Regions from separate parts of the Homo sapiens genome. Here region 2 is linked to region 1. Evidence: promoter capture Hi-C in human tissues and cell types (Jung and others, 2019). All regions are on one chromosome and are shown on one strand. Each heading gives the region's core, a stretch centred on a gene start or on the middle of the fragment in contact. The rest is flanking DNA. Distances are from core to core; before and after follow the strand shown.

What was found. The method cuts DNA at HindIII sites, captures the fragments that hold promoters and counts their contacts. A contact is called where the count stands out against the background at its distance.
Region 2: a contact is called between a fragment that was not itself captured here and the fragment with the promoter of VNN1 in region 1, in 4 of the 25 tissues and cell types used here (H1 embryonic stem cells, liver, mesenchymal stem cells and 1 more).

Annotation. Positions count from the first base shown.
Region 1 is chr6:132,712,325-132,718,746 of GRCh38, forward strand. It overlaps VNN1 (vanin 1), which reads right to left and starts at 1,731. Exons shown (of 7, transcript NM_004666.3): 1 at 1,502-1,731. The coding sequence starts at 1,711. The HindIII fragment of the contact is 14,207 bases long and covers 1-6,422 here.
Region 2 is chr6:132,634,114-132,640,229 of GRCh38, forward strand. No RefSeq gene overlaps it. Among named protein-coding and RNA genes, the nearest start is that of TAAR2, 13 kb to the left of the region's middle. The HindIII fragment of the contact is 4,731 bases long and covers 1-3,874 here.

The DNA.
Region 1 (6,422 bases), core at 481-2,980:
TTTTTAGTAGAGATGGGGTTTCTCCATATTGGTCAGGATGGTCTTGAACTCCCAACCTCAGGTGATCCGCCTGCTTCAGCCTCCCAAAGTGTTGGAATTACAGACATGAGCCACCGCACCTGGCTTAGTCAAGCATTTTAATTTTCTAATCCTGCCATTGTTGTTTCCTATGGCAGTCGTTAACTATAAACCTAGCTTATCCTGGAACCAAGCCTCTCCTTGAACTTTCGCTGATGACTGTGCCTGTGTCAAGACTGATTAATAACTTAAATATTCTGTTTATTTCCTCCTCTGCCCTAGCTTTCCCCTGCAAACATGATTCCTGCTTCTCAGAAAAAGAGGAGCCACAAACTGGTTACTTGAACTGTCCCATGCCTACAAGTACTGCCTGAGCTAACCTGGGCACCTTCCAATTAGAGAGTCACCTTAAAAAGCTCTGTGACCTTCAAGGAAATAGTTGGACTAAGGATGAAAAAGAACATCAGAACTCCTGATAACCTTTTAAATATTAGTATATATAAGAATATAGGGCAGTCACGGTAGCTCATGCCTGTAATCCCAGCACTTTGGGAGCCCAAGGCAGGTGGATCACCTGAGGTCAGGAGTTCAAGTACAGCGTGGGCAACATGGCAAAATCCCATCTCTACAAAAAATACAAAACTTAGCTGGGCACGGTGGCATGCATCTGTGGTCCCAGCTACTCTGGAGACTGTAGTGGGAGAATCACCTGAGCCCGGGAAGTCAAGGCTGCAGTGAGACGTGATCACACCACTATACTCCATCCTGGGTGACAGAGTGAGACCTTAACTCAACAACACAAAAGAATATATATTTATAGATATATGTAATACACATTTATCCATGACTTTTATCACACTTCATGTATTCCTGGTCTACACCTAATCGATCAATAGCTTTTAAAATAATATTTGTGTAAACCACAATTTATACTGTATGATTAACTTCAAACTGAAACCTTCACTAAACTTAAGGACTCACAATGCATTACATATACTTTTATCTTGTAATTAGAATGAAGTGTGAAGTATATAATGCATGCTGGCAAGGAATTGAAAACTTAAATTTGTTTTCAGATTATAAATTTATTCGAAAACCTGCAAAGCCTTAATAGCACATGAGTACATGAAGGCCACTAATACTCTGAAAATAGCACCTAGTCCCTGACCCATTTATCCTCCATCCTCCATCTGTACCAGAAAAGGGGAACAAAGATGTTGAATTTATGGCCAGTTCCTCAAAGGTCTGCTGCTTCTTGATAATGAGCAAATTGTTCTTTTCTTAACTTTGTTCTTACTTTTAGGGAAGTCCTTGCTCTAATTTTGAGAGGAAAGTAGAATTCTAACTGTAAAATAAAGGTTCTTGGCTACTCTGATACATATATCATCTAAAAGTGTAACTGACCCTGACAGTGGCCCTGTCTCCTAGGACCCCCTCCTTTCTCATAGAATCCAGTACACTGGAGAGATGGTAGAGATGGTACCTGATCTGCTGCTGATGTGATCGCTCCTTCCAAAATGTCCAGATTCCGATTCATTAATGCCAAAGCCTCCTCACGAGACACTGGTGTTAGGGTGGCATTGGGCAATATCGCTGCATGCTCATAAACAGCTGCAGTGAAAGTGTCCTGGCAGCTGGCTCTTGAGACATAGAAAAGCAAAATTGCCACGTAAGCTGGCAACTGAGTAGTCATGCTGAAGTCCAATGAGTGCTGAAAAACAGAGCATGTCCTGGTATTTATAGAAAGAAGACACGTGGTGTCCAGAACTTAGTACCTTAAACTACGGAAGTTAATTAAGAAAACGCTATGATTTCATAGCATTGTTACATAACAAAAGACCCTACCTTATTGCAGTAATTTGTGAAGATTAACTCAAGAACTCTATGTACATTAGTTCGCTAGGGCTGCCTAACAAAATACAATAAACTGGGTGGTGTAAAAAATAAAAAATTTATTGCTTTGCAGTTCTGGAGGGTGGGAGTCCCAGATGAAGGTGTCAGCAGAGTTGGTTCCTCCTGAGGGCGGTGAAGGAAAGATGTGTTCCAGGCCTCTCTCCTTGACCCATAGATGGCTGCCTTCTCCCTGTGTCTCTTCATATGCTATTCTCCCCATGTGTGTGCCTGTATCCAAGTTTTCCCTTTTTGTGAGGACACCACTCTAATCTTTAACACAGGGAAAGGGAAAATCCCAGCTCTAGCTTTTTTTGTCATCGTTGTTGTTTGTTTATTGTTGTTGTTGTTTGAGATGGAGTTTCACTCTTGTCACCCAGGCTAGAGTGCAGTGGCGAAATCTCGGCTCACTGCAACCTCCGCCTCTCGGGTTCATGTGATTCTCCTGCCTCAGCCTCCCAAGTAGCTGGGATTACAGGCGCCCGCCACCACGCCAGGCTAATTTTTTGTATTTTTAGTAGAGATAGGGTTTCGCCGTGTTGGGCAGGCTGGTCTCAAATTGCTGACCTCAGGTGATCCACCTGCTTTGTTTTTATGCCAAATAAGGGCAGAAGAAAAAAGCCAACTGAAGGTCATAAACCCAGGGGTACAGGCTCACTGAAAGACTGAGACTCAATCATAGGACCAATTCGATTTAGTGCCCACTGTACTCCAGTATAACTTCATCTTAACTAATTAGATCTGAAATGACCCCTTTTCCAAAAAAGTTACATTCTAAGATACTGACAGTTAGGACTTCAACATATAAATTTTTGGAATTCATATATTTTGGAATGTCAACACAAGACATTCAAATAATTTTAAAACTTTATTATTATTTTCATGTGAATATTTCAGCTCTACACTTTGATTTACTTTATTTTCCTCAAAATGGGGAAGCCAGGACAAAGAGGAATACAAAAGAGTTACTCATTTTCTATTGCTATATAACAAATTATCCCCAAATTCAGCAGCTTCAAAAAGCAAAAATACATCATCTCCCACTTTCTCTGGGTCAGGAATCCAGGGGCAGTTTAGCTGGTGCCTCTGGCCCAAGGTCTCTTTCACAAGGCTGCAGTCAAGCAGCTGCCAGGGCTAGCTATATCAAGGCTTGACTCCAGGAGGATTCACTTCCGAGCTCCAAGCTCCCTCATGTGGCTGACGGCAGGGATCAAGACCTCATTGGTTGTTGCCCAGAGACATGAGTTCCTAGTGATGCAAACCTCACCATAGGGCAGCCCGCATTATGGTATCTGGATTCCCTTAGAGCCAGACAGCAAGTGAACCCACTGGAGATGGAAGCCACGGATGCTTCGTAATGTAATTGGGGAAGCAACACCTCATCGCTTTTGTTGTATTCTATCCAATAAAGCATTAGGAACCATCTTTGAAGCTGCTTATCACAGAGGCAACAGAGGTGTATAAAGAATCAGAGCAAAAAAAAGAAAAAATGAGCTGGGGAGCGAGATCCAGAGAGAGGAGAGGGAAATTATATAAAATAGAAAAACTGTTCATAGATTTTGATATTGAGTAAGCTGGCAAATTTTGTTTCAGTTGTGCATTAAGTATAATATTTACAGAATTAGTGTTTATGTTTTTCCATTTTATTTTTAGATCTATTTGTCTTTGAATGGTATTTTTATAGTTCAATCTGCAAACAGGCATATCTAATTTTTTACTTTAGTAACTATAATGCATTTATTCTGCAATTGCCAAGGTAACCCAGGGGTTGTGGTTGGCTGGTTCTCCTGAGTTTCCGGTAAACACCAGCTTCTCTAACTGCTTGCTGACCTCTTAGGGCCTTTCCATGCCCAGGTGGGTGGGAATACCACATATTTCACAAAAAGATGTCATTATTATGTAACAATTTGTAAAAGGAAGCACTGAAATAAAAGTTAAAACTGAGATGAGTTGGCAAGAGGTTAAAAAATTACTTCTTGACCTTCTTAGATTAAAAATATTAAACCTCCCGTGGAGTTTCTAGTCCAACTCATAAAGAGCTTGGCAGTCATTTTTCCCATGCTCACACCAAGAAAAAAGCTAAACAAATGAAAATCGACAACTTTTCTAGGATGCATCAGAGAATTGAGATCACAGGATAAACTGCGGTCCTCAGAACTGCAGAGATAGGCAGATACAGAGGTTAAGAGTGTACTGCGAGCAGAGTCCTCTGCGGCTGGCGCCAGTACCGTGGGTTCACTTGAACTGTAATTGACGAATTGGTGGAGGCTCAGGGTGGACAACCTTGAGAGTTCTGGTCTGTTCTTCTTAACAAAAGCCTGCCCTCAAAGTAAAGTATTTTACCAGAGCCTAACCTACCTAGGGGAAGGAAAAATGCCAACCCCAGCCACTCTAATCTTTAACTTGGGGAAAGGGAAAATCTCATCTCTAGCTTGTTTTTATGCCAACTAATGGCAGAAGAAAAAAGCCAAGTGAAGTTCATAAACCCAGGGGTACAGGCTCACTAAAAGACTGAGACTAAATCATAGGACCAATAACCTTGTCCCTCCTCCAGCATGTCACTGCCACATGAATCTACCCTTTCTGGCCTACTTAGCATGTACTAGCTGAGAGCAAATCTTCAGATGAAATAATGCAGTTCGGCCAGGCGCGGTGGCTCATGCCTATAATCCCAGCACTTTGTGAGGCCGAGACGGGAGGATCACCAAAGGTCAGGAGTTTGAGATGAGCCTGACCAACATGGAGAAACCCTGTCTCTACTAAAAATACAAAAATTAGCTGGGCATGGAAGGGAGCAGTGTGGGGGGCGGGGGCGCCTATAATCCAGATACTCGGGAGGCTGAAGCAGGAAAATTGCTTGAACCCGGGAGGCGGAGGTTGCCTCGAGCCGAGATTGCGCCATTGCACTCCAGCTTGGTGATAGAGTGAGACTCCGTCTCAAAAAAAAGAAAGAAAGAAAGAAAGAAATAGAAATAGAAACAGTGCAGTTCTTGCAGTAGAGTATCATCAGCAGGACATGGAACTGGGAGGCACCAGCAGCCTCTACTACAACTCCTAGGCTGGTTCTCTGGATCCTTAACCCTACTGCTACAGCCAGCCAAGGTCCCCAAATGCAGCCCTTCTGCTCACACAAAGTAGAAACTGGGAGAATTGTCTCCAAGGAAATGACTTTGAGTGTAGACAAAAGCCCTAATTGATACCTCCAGACTCCTCCAACCAAACTTGCATAGATGGAGCAGATTGCCTTTTGCAAGGAAAACATGACATCGCACTGTCCAGAATAGGGCAAGACCCACAGTATTCTGGATTTTGCTAGCACAGCAGTGATCACCCCACCCCAGGCAGCAGGTCCCCAGAGGAACTCAGAAGCAAGTCCTGCCCAGCTTACGCAGAGAGAACCAGAAACAAGGGAAAAGGAGGGAAGAGCAAGGACTGAGTGGAGTGGGCACTGCCTCTTGCACTTCACCTGGTGAACTCTGAAAAGCCATGTGCACAGCATGTAAAAGTGTGTCCATATACTTGTGTCTGATAAAAGATTGATTGGCAGTCGGCCTCTGCATTGCTACTCAAAATATACGCCCATATTTTAATATTTAGTGGCTACAACACAATGTCAATTCTTTTGTTGACATTAATCTGGTTTTAGGAGAAACAATCCATTTTTCCTCTGGTCTCATAGCACAACAACTAACACAAAAGACTGGTTACTCCCAAGTAGGTGGAGATTTCTCCCCACTAGAAAGCAAGCAATTGACTCTGCATCAGACATCAGCTGGCTATCTTCCAGTTCAATCCAAATACTATTTATCCAAAGATAGCATCAGATCCCACATGTTAAGGGCTCAGTCCCACAAAACCGCCCCCTCCTTCCCACCAGTAACAAGTCTGGGCTTCCAGATCTTCCGACCAAATGGCTCTGGGTTGGGGTTTCCATGACCCCTTTTTTTTTTAGTTCAATTAGTTTGCTAGAGTGGCTCACAGAACTCAGGGAAACACTTACCTTTAGTGGCTTATTGTAAAGGATATTACAAAGGATACAAATGAAGAGGTGCATAGAGCAAGGTATGGGGGAAGGACTGGAGAGCCTTCCACGCACCCCTAGGTGTGCCACCCTCCAGGAACCCTCCACGTGTTCAGCTGTAAGGAAACTCTCCGAACCCTGTCCTTTTGGGTTTTTATGGAAGCTTCATTACATAGTCACGATTGACAACCATGTAGAAATGCGATTGGACAAAAAGGTTATGATCCCATACTAACAGTTTGAGTGGGGAAACCCAGTAAAGCTTGTCTGTTCAGGTTTGTCTTGACATCTCTTTATAGCATTTCTTCCTCTAGGGTATGGGGTGGGACCCTCTCTGAAATGAGGGTCTTTTGAGCCACAATCAGATTATAGTCCTGCCTTAGGTAGGTAAAGGGAGGACAGGGTAAGGTCAGAGAGGGAGATTCTGTTTCATGAGGCCTGCTCCTGAGGCCTAAAACCCCCTAATGTTAAAACAAACAAACAAACAAAAAAA
Region 2 (6,116 bases), core at 259-2,758, 78 kb before region 1:
CCAGTTTCTCAAATAACTGACATATCACAGATTATGCACAAATGTGCCACCAGGTTACTTCCTTTTGCATAAAGCTTGAAATAGATCTTCTTCTGCTATCCTTTTTTGCATAATTATAATTGTAAAATTTGTTAGGAAGGAGGATACTGGGATTCCACACTAGTTTTTGTTTTTTAAAGAACTGACATGTAATGTCTGTGTATGTTAACATCTCTGTGTGCAGTACCATAGCATATGCTGAGTAAACACCACTATAGCATACACCAATAAAATGACAGAGAATACCACTAATAATATATGTTCACCAAGGGATTTTACATGTTAAGATCCATGCTAGGCGATAACTTCTCATCTAGTAATCAACAATCTACTGAAGGAGGTGAGATCATTGCCCTCACTTTATAGCTGAGTAAATGAAGGTTTTGCATTTTTAAATAACTTTGTCCAAATAATAGCTGATAAATATTGGAGTCAGAAATGCAGACCCATGGCGTCTAGCTCCCAAGCCTGCCCTTCTCACCACAGATCATCTTCGATAATGAGGGCTTGAATATTTTCATTAATTAAAATCTCCCTAGGAGCAGCCTGGCTTGAAAAATACTACTTTACCACATCACATTGTTAAAACATTGATCAAAAAACAAATTTTAGAGTTTGGCATCTCTGTGATTTCTTATCTGACTTGTACATTTATTAAGAGGGATACCGAGGGATTCCTGGACAAGATGGCCAAATAGGAACAGCTCCAGTCTGAAGCTCCCAGTGAGACCAATGCAGAAGGCTGATGATTTCTGCATTTCTAACTGAGGTAACTGGTTCATCTCACTGGGAATGGTTAGAGAGTGGGTGCAGCCCACGGGGTGAGCAGAAGCAGTGTGGGGGCATTGCCTCACCCGGGAAGTGCAAGGGGTTAGGGAACTCCCTCCCCTAGCCAAGGAAAGTCTTGAGGGAATGTGCCATGAGGGACAGAGCTATCCAGCTCAGATACGACACTTTTTTCACAGTCTTCACAACCCACAGACCAGGAGATTCCCTTGGGTACCTACACCACAAGGTCCCAGGGTTTCAAGCACAAAACTGGGTGGCCATTTGGGCAGACACCGAGCTAGCTGCAGAAGTTTTTTTCATATCCCAGTGGCACCTGGAATGCCAGCAAGACAGAACCATTCACTCCCATGGAAAAGGGGATAAAGCCAGGGAGTCAAGTGGTCTTGCTCAGAGGGTCCCTCTCCCATGGAGCCCAGCAAGCTAAGATCCACTGGCTTGAAATTCTCACTGGCAGCACAGCAGTCTGCAGTCAACCTGGGACACTCGAGCTTGGTGTTGGGAGGGGCGTCCACCGTTACTGAGGCTTGAGTAGGCTGTTTTCCCCTCACAGTGTAAACAATGCCTCCTGGAAGTTTGGACTGAGCACAGCCCACTGCAGCACAGAAAAGTAGCTGTAGCCAGACTGCCTCTCTAGATTCCTCCTCTATGGGCAGGACATCTCTGAAAGAAAGGCAGCAGCCTCAGTCAGGGCCTTATAGATAAAACTCCCATCTCCCTGGGACAGAGCACCTGGGGGAAGGGGCAGCTGTGGGAGCAGCTTCAGCAGACTTAAATGTTCCTGCCTGCCAGCTCTGAAGAGAGCAGCTTATCTCCAAGCACAGTGCTCAAGCTCTGCTAAGGGACAGACGGCCTCCTCAAGTGGGTCCCTGACCCCCATGCCTCCTGTCTGGGAGACTCCTCCCAGAAGGAGTTGAGAGACACGTCATACAGGAGAGCTCCAGCTGACATCTGGCAAGTGCCCCTGTGAGACAAACCTTCCAGAGGAAGGAGCAGGCAGCAATTTTTGCTGTTCTGCAGCCTTGGCTGGTGATACCCAGGCAAACAGGGTCTGGAGTGGACCCCCAGCAAACTCCAGCAGATCAGCAGTAGAGGTGCCTGACTCTTAGAATGAAAAACAGAAAGCAATAGCATCAACATCAACAAAAAGGATGACCATGCAAAAACTCCATCCAAAGGTCACCAACAGCAAAGACCAAAGGTAAATAAATCCATGAAGATGAGGAAAAGCCGGTGCAAAAAGGCTGAACATTTCAAAAACCAGAATGCTCTTCTCTTCCGAAGGATCACAACTCCTTACCAGCAAGGGAACATAACTGGACAAAGAATGAGTTTGACGAACTGACAGAAGTAGGCTTCAGAAGGTGGGTAATAACAAACTCCTCTGAGCTAAAGGAGCATGTTTTAACCCAATGCAAGGAAGCTAAGAGCCTTGATAAAAGGTTAGAGGAATTGCTAACTAGAATAACCAATTTAGAGAAGAACATAAATAACCTGATGGAGCTGAAAAGCACAGCATGAGAACTTCGTGAAGCATACACAAGTATCAATAGCCGAATCGATCAAGCAGAAGAAAGGATATCAGAGATTGAAGATCAACTTAATGATATAAAGTGTAAAAACAAGATTAGAGAAAAAGAATGAAAAGGAATGAATAAAGCTCCCAAGAAATATGGGACTATGTGAAAAGACCAAACCTACATTTGATTGGTGTACCTGAAAGTGACAGGGAGAATGGAACCAAGTTGGAAAACACACTTCAGGATATTATGCAGGAGAACTTCCCCAACCTAGCAAGACAGGCCAACATTCAAATTCAGGAAATACAGAGAACACCACAAAGGTTCTCCTCGAGAAGAGCAACCCCAAGTCACATACTCATCAGATTCACCAAGATTGAAATGAAGGAAAAAATGTTAAGGGCAGGCAGAGAGAAAGCTTGGGTTACCCCCAAAAGGAAGCCTGTCAGACTAACAGTGGATCTCTCTGAGAAAACCTACAAGCCAGAAGAGAGTGGGGTCAATATTCAACATTCTTAAAGAAAAGAATTTTCAACCCAGAATTTCATATCCAGCCAAAGTAAGCTTCATAAGTGAAGGAGAAATAAAATCCTTTACAGACAAGCAAATGCTGAGGGATTTTGTCCCATCAGGCCTTCCTTACAAGAGCTCCTGAAGGAAGAACTAAATATGGAAAGGAAAAATGGGTACCAGCCACTGCAAAAACAAACCAAAATGTAAAGACCATTGACATTATGAGGAAACTCCATCAACTAATGTGCAAAATAACCAGCTAGCATCATAATGACAGGATGAAATTCAAACATAACAATATTAACCTTAAATGTAAATGGGCTAAATGCCCCAATTAAAAGGCACAGAGTGGCTAACTGGATAAAGAGTCAAGACCCATCGGTATGCTGTATTCAGGAGACCCATCTCACATGCAAAGACACACATAGGCTCAAAATAAAGTCATTGAAGAAGACTTACCAAGCAAATGAAAAGCAAAAAAAGGTAGGAATTGCAATTCTAGTCTCTGATGAAACAGACTTTAAATGAACAAAGATCAAAAGAGACAAAGAAGGGCATTACCTTATGGTAAAGGAGTCAATACAACAAGAAGAGCTACCTATCCTAAATATATGTGCACCCAATACAGGAGCATCCAGATTCAAAAAGCAAGTTCTTAGAGACCTACAAAGAAACTTAGACTCCCACACAATAATAGTGGGAGACTCTAACACCCCACTGTCAATATTAGACACACATCAACAAGACAGAAAATTACCAAGGATATTCAGGACTTGAACTCAGCTCTGGACCAAGCAGACCTAATAGACATCTACAGAACTCTCCACCCCAAATCAACAGAATATACATTCTTCTCAGCACCACATAGCACTTATTCTAAAATCAACCACATAATTTGAAGTAAAACACTCCTCAGCAAATGCAAAGGAACGGAAATCAAAACAAACAGTCTCTCAGACCACAGTGCAATGAAATTAGAACTCAGGATTAAGAAACTCACTCAAAACCACACAACTATATGGAAACTGAACAACCTTCTCCTTGAAAGACTACTGGGTAAATAACAAAATTAAGGCAGAAATAAATAAGTTATTTGAAACCAATGAGAACAAAGACACAACGTACTAGAATCTCTGGGACACAACTAAAGCAGTGTTTAGAGGGAAATTTAAAGCACTAAATGCCCACAAGAGAAAGCAAGAAAGATCTAAAATCGACACCCTAACATCACAATTAAAAGAACTAGAGAAGCAAGAGTAAACAAATTCAAAAGCTAGCAGAAGAGGAGAAATAACTAAGATTAGAACAGAAGTGAAGGAGATAGAGACAAAAATCCTTCAAAAAATCAATGCACCCAGGAGTTGGTTTTTTGAAAAGATTAACAAAATAGACCGCTAGCCAGACTAATAAAGAAGAAAAGAGATAATAATCAAATAGACACAATAAAAAATGATAAGGGGGATATCACCACTGATCCCACAGAAATACAAGCTACCATCAGAGAATACTATAAACAACCCTACACACACACACACACACACACACACACACACACACAAATCTAGAAAATCTAGAAGAAATGGATAAATTCCTGGACATATACACTCTCCCAAGAGTAAACCGGGAAGAAGTTGAATCCCTGAATAGACCAATAACAAGTTCTGAAACTGAGGGAGTAATTAATAGCCTACCAACCAAAACAAACAAACAAACAAAAAGCCCAGGACCAGATGGATTCACAGCCGAATTTTACCAGAGGTACAAAGAGTAGCTGGTATGATTCCTTCTGAAACTATTCCAAATAATAGAAAAAGATGGATTCCTCTCTAACTCATTTTATGAAGCCAGCATCATCCTGATACCAAAACATGCCAGAGACGCAACAAGAAAAAGAAAATTTCAGGCCAATATCCCTGATGAACATTGATGCAAAAATCCTCAACAAAATACTGCCAAACCGAATCCAGCAGCATATCAAAAAGCTTATCCACCGCAATCAAGTCAGCTTTGTCCCTTGGGTACAAGGCTATTTCAACATACACAAATCAATAAATGTAATCCATCACATAAACAGAAACAATGACAGAAACCACATGATTATCTCAATAGATGCAGAAAAGGCCTTCAATAAAATTAAACACCCTTCATGCTAAAAACACTCAATAAACTAAGTATTGATGGAACATATCTCAAAATAATAAGAGCTATTTATGACAAACCCACAACCAATATCATACTGAATGGACAAAAGCTGGAAGCATTCCCTTTGAAAACCGGCACAAGACAAGGATGCACTCTCTCAACTCTCCTATTCTACGTAGTATAGGAAGTTCTGACCAGGGCAATTAGGCAAGACAAAGAGATAAAGGTATTCAAATAGGAAGACAGGAAGTCAGATTGTCTCTGTTTGCAGGTGACATGAATGTATATTTAGAAAACCACATCGGCTCAGCCCAAAAACTCCTTAAGCTGATAAGCAACTTCAGCAGTCTCAGGATACAAAATCAATGTGCAAAAATCACAAGGATTCCTATACAACAATAATAGACAGAGACCCAAATCATGAGTGAACTCCCATTCACAATTGCTACAAAGAGAATAAAATACCTAGGAATACAGCTTACAGGGGATGTGAAAGACCTCTTCAAGAACTACAAACCACTGCTCAATGAAATAAGAGAGGACACAAACAAATGGAAAAACATTCCATGCTCATGGAAAGGAAGAATCAATATCATGAAAACGGCCATACTGCCCAAAGTAATATATAGATTTAATGCTATTCCCGTCAAGCTATCATTGACTTTCTTTACAGAATTAGAAAAAAACTACTTTAAATTTCATGTGGAACCAAAAAAGAGTGTGTATAGCCAAGACAATCCTAAGCAAAAAGAACAAAGCTGGAGGCATCATGCTACCTGACTTTGAACATGCTGCAAGGCTACAGAAACCAAAACAGCATGGTACTGGTACCAAAACAGGTATATAGACCAATAGAACAGAACAGAGAACTCAGAATTAACACCACACATCTATAACCATCTGATCTTTGACAAATCAAACAAAAGCAAGCAATGGGGAAAGGATTCCCTATTTAATAAATGGTGTTAGAAAACTGGCTAGCCATATATAGAGAACTAAAACTGGACCTCTTCCTTACACCTTATACAAAAATTAACTCAAGATGGATTAAAGATTTAAAGTAAGATCTAAAACCATAAAAACCCTAGAAGAAAACCTAGGCAATACCATTCAGGA